Regions from separate parts of the Homo sapiens genome. Here region 1 is linked to region 2. Evidence: promoter capture Hi-C in human tissues and cell types (Jung and others, 2019). All regions are on one chromosome and are shown on one strand. Each heading gives the region's core, a stretch centred on a gene start or on the middle of the fragment in contact. The rest is flanking DNA. Distances are from core to core; before and after follow the strand shown. Region 1 has its middle 96 kb from the start of CCDC201. Region 2 holds the start of ZMIZ2 (zinc finger MIZ-type containing 2).

What was found. Contacts are between HindIII fragments. The study calls those that stand out against the background at their distance.
Region 1: a fragment that was not itself captured here is called in contact with the fragment with the promoter of ZMIZ2 in region 2 in 1 of the 25 tissues and cell types used here (dorsolateral prefrontal cortex).

What each region holds. Positions count from the first base shown.
Region 1 is chr7:45,775,463-45,778,727 of GRCh38, forward strand. It overlaps the pseudogene GTF2IP13. Among named protein-coding and RNA genes, the nearest start is that of CCDC201, 96 kb to the right of the region's middle. The HindIII fragment of the contact is 6,550 bases long and covers 1-3,265 here.
Region 2 is chr7:44,747,120-44,750,528 of GRCh38, forward strand. It overlaps ZMIZ2 (zinc finger MIZ-type containing 2), which reads left to right and starts at 1,728. Exons shown (of 19, transcript NM_031449.4): 1 at 1,728-1,872. RefSeq lists silencers at 1,223-1,752, 1,863-1,972, 1,983-2,032. The HindIII fragment of the contact is 31,122 bases long and covers 1-3,409 here.

The DNA of each region.
Region 1 (3,265 bases), core at 219-2,718, 1.0 Mb after region 2:
TTCCTGCCAGGGCCAATCTTCAGACCTCAGGACTTTGCAGCCTATCCCACCTCCCCTCTGGCCAGCCTCGAGCCGTTGTGGGTCCAGCACTTTTTCCAGGCTGTCTCCTGGTTGTCCTTCTGCCTTGAGGCCTGGCTCATGCTGCTCCCCTTCCCACTCACCAAGACCCACAAGGACCACTCCACACCCAGCTCAGCCCCATCCCCTCAGATAGTCCTCTCTCTTTCCTCAGGTGGCCAGGTGCATATCTTGGTGTGAGGACCTTCACTGTATCTGGGAATGCCTACTGGTCACCTCGGTGACAGAGACCAAGGCATTTACCTGATATGAGTGTCTTGGTTCATTGTCTACATGGCTAGGGAGGGAGTCAATAATAGGCTTTTCACTTGCTGCAAGGGCCGGTTCTCCTGGCCCCATGGCTCTAGGGATGGAGGACACTGCAGGAGATGCACCGCTCACTTCCCAGCTGAGGACTGTGGGTCATCTCAGGGCGATTTCACAGTCCCCACATGCCCCACCCCCTCAGCTCTGCAAATACCAAGCAGCGCAGCCTGCCTAGGGGATGATGGGCTCGAGAGTGCCCAGGTAGTGCCCAGAGTGCCCTTGGCAGGCCCCTCACCTAGCTGCTTCCACAGCTCTGTAGCAAGAGTTCTAAACTTTTTTGACCGTGAAGTCTGCTGAGAATAAGAGCTGTGGACTGTTTTCCCAGAAAGGCATGTATGTGCTCTCCACACAAAACCTTTCATTGTGGCCAAGCACAGTGGCTCATGTAATCCCAGAACTTTGGGAGGCAGAGCCATTCGGATCACCTGAGGTCAGGAGTTCAAGACCAGCCTGCCCAACATGACGAAACCCTGTCTCTACTAAAAATACAAAAAATTAGCCAGGTGTGGTGGCAGCCACCTGTAATCCCAGCTACTCCGGAGGCTGAGGCAGGAGAATCACTTGAACCCGGGAGGCGCAGGTTGTAGTGTGGTGAGATCACGCCACTGCACTCCAGCCTGGGCGACAGGAGCGAAACTCTGTCTCAAAAAACAAAACAAAACAAAGCCTTGCATCCTTTCAGGGGGCTCACACCTCCCTAAGGGGCCAGTAATTAAACCCCTTGGGCCTGAGGGTGAGAAACTTTGTCTCAGTTCTTCCCCGAGTGATCAGCCCAGGGGTAAGGAAGGAGAAGCCAGAAAGCAGGACCCATGAGAAGGGCCCACTCCTGGAGTTTGAGGCCCACTCCCTCCTGCCCCTGCCTCTCCTCTGTCCAGGACTCCTCCCTGCTCTGCCCCACTCCTGGGGCCATAACCATGGGGAGCTGTGGTTTTCTACAGGCTCCTGGGCACAAAGTGGGCAGGCTCACCTGGAGGCGATCAGAGCAACATGGCAGGAAGTGAGGGGGAAAGCCGCCCTGGAACTGCGCCTCTCTGCCCCCTGACGTCGCTGGCGTGCACTCCTCCCTCCCCTCACTCAGGCAGTGGCAAGAGTTCCATGTGAGCACTGTCCTGCTCCCTCTGCTGCCCTTTTTTTTTCTTGGGGCTACCATAACACTCCCTTCCCCAGCCCTGCCAACCTGGTGGGACATTGGGCTTCCCTCTCACAGGGTCCTGGGGACAGGCCCATCCTTTATCATACCCACAGAGAGACCCCTTTTTTTCTTCAGGACCTGGGGAGCAGCCAGGTTCCATGAGTTAAATGCAGATCTGAACCAAGCTGGGACTGGGGTACACACTCTCCTCTGCTGAAAAGTAGCTAGGGATTCCAACTAGGTGAGAAGGAGAGTGGGGCAGAGCCAGACCAGACAAGGACTGATCACCTGGAAAAAGCCTGCCATCAAAGGTCTTGGCAAATGCTGGGTGCAGTGGCTCACTCCTGTAATCCCAGCACTTTGGGGGGCTGAGACAGGTGGACTACTTGAGGCAAGGAGTTCGAGTCCAGCCTGGGCAACATGGCAAAACCCCATCTCTACTAGAAATACAAAAATTAGCTAGGCATGCTACACTCCTGTAATCCCAGCTACTCAGGAGGCTGAGGCAGGAGAATCACTTGAACTGGGGAGGCGGAGGTCGAAGTGAGCCGAGATTGTGTCCCTGCACTCCAGTCTGGGAGACAGAGTGAAACTAGGCCTCAAAAAAAAAAAAAAAAAAAAAAGAATATGGCCTTGGCAGAGAGGGGCCAGCCCGGCAGTGCCTTCCCTTGGGTTTCTCCTGGGTAGGCCTCTGCCATGAGGAGGCGCTTCCTTCTGCCTGTCCATGGCCCACAGCAATGGAATGTCTGCTTCTAGGGGTTGGGTGGGAGACTGCTGGCAGAACTGGAAACCTTCAGGTGGGGTTTTTTTGTTTTGTTTTGTTTTCGAGATGGAGCACCGCTCTGTCACCCAGGCTGGAGTGCAGTAGTGGAATCTCAGTTCACTGCAACCTCCGCCCCCCTGAGTTCAAACAATTCTCCTGTCTCAGCCTCCTGAGTAGCTGAGATTACAGGCATGTGCCACCATGCCCGGCTATTTTTTGTATAGATGGCATTTCGCCATGTTGGCCAGGCTGGTCTCGAACTCCTGACCTCAAGTGATCCACCAACTTCGGCCTCCCAAAGTGCTGGGATTACAGGCATGAGCCACTGAGCCCAGCCCCTTCAGGGGGTTTTGAGGCTTCACTACAATACTAGTTTCCTGTGGCTGCTGCAACAAATTACCACACACTTAGTAACTTAAAACAACCAAAATGTATTCCCTTACAGGTCTGAAGGCCAGAATTCTACAGTAAGTCCTACTGAGTCAAGGTGGGAGCAGGGTCGGTGGCTTCTGAGGCTCTGTGGGAGAATCTGTTTCCTGGCCGTGGAGGTGGCCTGCACTCCTCAGCTTGTGCTGCCCGTCTCGAATGACTGGAGTTTCCTGCTTCTGTCACTACACCTCCCACCCTCTCCATCACCTGCTCTGCTCTTATAAGGATCTGGGTGAGTACATCAACCCCAACAGCCAAAGACCCTTAACTTCATTATATCTGCAAAGCCCCTTTTGCCATATAAGGTCATGTTCACCAGTTCCCGGGATTAGGATATGGGCATCTTGGGGACATCAGCCTGCTACAGCTAGGCTGCAAAACTATTACACCCTCCTGGTGTTTCAATGATTGGGAGAAAAAGGGTTGGCATTTTTTGCTTAGGGGTCCCTCTTAAACTTATATCTGTAAGGTCTGGGGTCCCTCTTAACCTTGTGTTTGTTTTTGTTTTTTTGAGGTGGAGTCTTGCTCTGTCATCCAGGCCGGCAGTGGCGTGGTCT
Region 2 (3,409 bases), core at 478-2,977:
AGAGGCGGCCTTCAGGGAAGAAATTTCAACAATGTCAAAAATTAATTGTGGAGTATCCATTGATAGATGAATGGATAACTTAAATGTGGAATATGCATACAATGGAATATTATTCAGCCATAAGAAAGAAGGGGCTGGGCGCCGTGGCTCACGCCTGTAATCCCAACACTTTGGGAGGCCCAGGCAGGCGGATCACGAGGTCAGGAGATCGATTCCATCCTGGCCAACATGATGAACCCCGTCTCTACTAAAACACACACACAAAAAAATTAGCCAGGCGTGGTGGCGTGCCCCTGTAGTCTCAGCTACTCAGGAGGCTGAGGCAGGGGAATCGCTTGAACCTGGGAGGTGGAGGTTGCAGTGAGCCGAGATTGCACCACTGCACTCCAGCCTGGCGACAGAGTGAGACTCCGTCAAAAAAAAGAAGGGAAGGGAAGGGGAGGGAAGAAGGAAGGAAAGAAGGAAGGAAAGAAAGAAAGAAAGAAAGAGAGAGAGAAAGGAAAGAAAGAAAGAAAGAAAGAAAGAAAGAAAGAAAGAAAGAAAGAAAGAAATTCTGACACATGCCACAACATGGATGGAAGTGAGGACACTGTGCTAACTAAAGTAAGACTGTCACAAAAAGACATATAATGTATGATTCCACTTATACGATGTCCTTAGAGTAGTCTAATTTAGAGACGAATAGTGAATGCCAAAGGCTAGGAGGAGGAAAGAATGGGGAGCTAGTGTTTACTGGGTATGGAGTTTCCATTTGAGAAGATGAAAAAGTCCTGGAGACGGTTGGTGGTTGCACAAGAATGTGAATGTACTTGGTGCCACAGAACTACACTTGGAAACAGTTAAGATGGTAAGTTTTACGTTATGTGTATTTTACCACAATTAAGAAAAATTAATTATGGGTAGTTGAGAGAATGTGGTCTTCCTCAACTTACGGTAGGAAAAGTCAAGAATAACTTAAAGGCTGATAATAGCATTTCAAAGATCGAAACTGATCAGAGAGGCTATTCCATCAGGCTAGACTAGCTCAATAGTGACTTTTTCCAGAAGGAGAACCACTGGGAAGAGAGAACTGAGCAGTGAGGACAGCGAACTTGTTAAGTTTAGTTTTCTGCTTTAACGAGGGGCTTCCGGAGTCCTTTAATAAGATCCCCTCCCAAAAGTGGCACCCTGGGTCTCTCTGTCTCCCAGTCGTGTCCCCGCCCGCCGGGCCAGAGCAATGGACTCCCAGGAAGCAGGGGGGGCGCGGGCGGGGCGCGGGCGGGGCGGGTGGGGGAAGGGCAAGGACTCACTCTTCCTTTCCTCCTCCGCCGGGGCCCGCCCCGAGCCCTGGCCCCACCCCGGCTCTCTGGATCCGCCTCCTCCTCCCGACCCCGCCCCGGCACCTTGGCCCCGCCTTCCACTCGGCCCCGCCCCGGCGTCCTGGCCCCGCCTCCGCCGCCCGGCCCCGCCCCGCTCCCGGCGGACTGCGAGCAGGAAGAGCGCAGTGGCTCTGCCGACGCCGCGTTCAGAAAGGTGTGGAGGGGGCTGGGGGCGCAGGTCGCGATCAGGCTGCGTCTCCTGCCCGCCCAGCCACCTGCGGCCCTGGCCCCACCCTGCCGCTTTGGGCCGCTCGGGCTCGCGGCCGCCCCCGCCCCGAGCGCCGGCTCGGGGCTCTGCTGCTCTGGCCTGGGAGGCGGGGCCGGCTGCGCGGCGTCATGCATATGCATGAGCGGCGCGGCGGCGGCTCCATTGTGCCCTCGGAGCGGGCGGCGGCGCGATGGCGCGGGTGGCGGCGGCCCCGGGGCGGCGGGCGGCGCGGAGGGCGGGCTGAGCGCATGGAGCGGCGCGGGCCGGGGGCCGCCACGGCGAGGGGCCGGGCCAGGCCGGGCGGAGGTGAGCGGGGTCCTGGGGGTGGCCCCTGGCAACGCCGCCAGCAGGCAGGTGTGGGCCGGCGGGGGCAGGCAGGTGCGGCAGGTGCGGGCCGGCAGGTGCGGGCGGGCAGGCAGGTGTAGCTGGTCGCCCGGGGCGCCCCGGTTCCGCTGCGGCGCCACGGTAGGGTTCACAGCTGGGCTGGGGCTAGAGGCTCTGCCGCCCACCTGCCGGCACCTGCCACGCGTGCGTCGTGGTCTTGGGCAGGCTCGGCCCCGTGGGCGTCAGGGTCATCCAGCCCTCCCCTGAGTCTTTGTTGGAGGCTGGCCGAGGGGTGTAAGCGGCGCTCGGGGTTCTCCTGAGCGATGAAGGCTGGCCGGGCCTTCGCTCCAACCTGATCGTTCCTAGCTTTGGGGCCAGGCAGTCTCACCTACATGGTACGCCCCTCCGCTCCTACTTACGTGCCCACCAGCACGGCGATGTGGGGGCCGTCTGAGGCCGTCACCTGCTCGCGGAGGAGCTGTTCCGCTCCTGGGCTGAACGACGCTGAGCGGCCAGCCCCCAGCTGCCAGTTTTGATGGGGACACCCCTTTCCAAACTGGACATACTGAAGCTCAGGCGTGAGGATGCCCTGCTCCCCTGAGGTGCCTTGTCTTCCCTAGTGCCAGGTGTCCTTCACCGCGGCACCCCCACCCGGTGCCTTGTTTACCCCTCCACCTACCGTGTCTCTCCTCCCATTCCCTGGACCCTCTGCCCTGCAGTGTTCTGCCTCTCCTTCTCCCTAGGGTACCCTCTTTCCAGTATTACAGAACATCCATGGTGGTGTCTTTAATTTGTGTCATCGCAGATTTCACAGGGACACACACGGAACATGTGACTTGGTCTGAGACCGTGGTGATTACGGATAGGATGGACACAGACTCACCACCAAGTTCTGGCAAGCTAGAACCAGAGGGCATCCCTTGATGCTTAGTGTGGAAACAGGAGAAGTGAAGGAATCTTAACTTCCAGAGGTACTGACCTCTAGCCCTTGTCATGCCCAGGGGATAGTTACAAGCTGGAAGTGTAAATGAAGAGAACAAGCAGGTGACAGTTGCCGGTTGTAGATTTCTGAAGGACAGGCCTAAGATGTTTGGGGAGCATCCTGATTATTGGGATTGAGCTCCCAAGGGCTGATGACATGAAGGTGGTCATGTGTCCTCAGTCCTAGGATGCTACCAGATATCCATCTTACACATTGTAAACTGATGCCAGGTTAAGGTTGTCCCTTCAGCTGTTCACTGAAATGTCTCATGCCTGGGCCATTGCTTATTCCTGGACTTTTTGATGAACTCTGCATCCTGACTTAGCCCCACGCTTAGACATTTTAGTACTGTGGCCTTACAGGTAGAGGGGGCAGGACTTTCAGCTACCTGTATATGTGAGTACCCCACTTTTTGCTACCAAGGACCCCGCTCCTGCAACATTCCACAGCCATCATTTCTTCAATACCCTTTGACTCCATTGTCACCTGGGTTGGATCCTGACCCTGCAATCTTGGAGACAGTGAGTCCTGATGTGT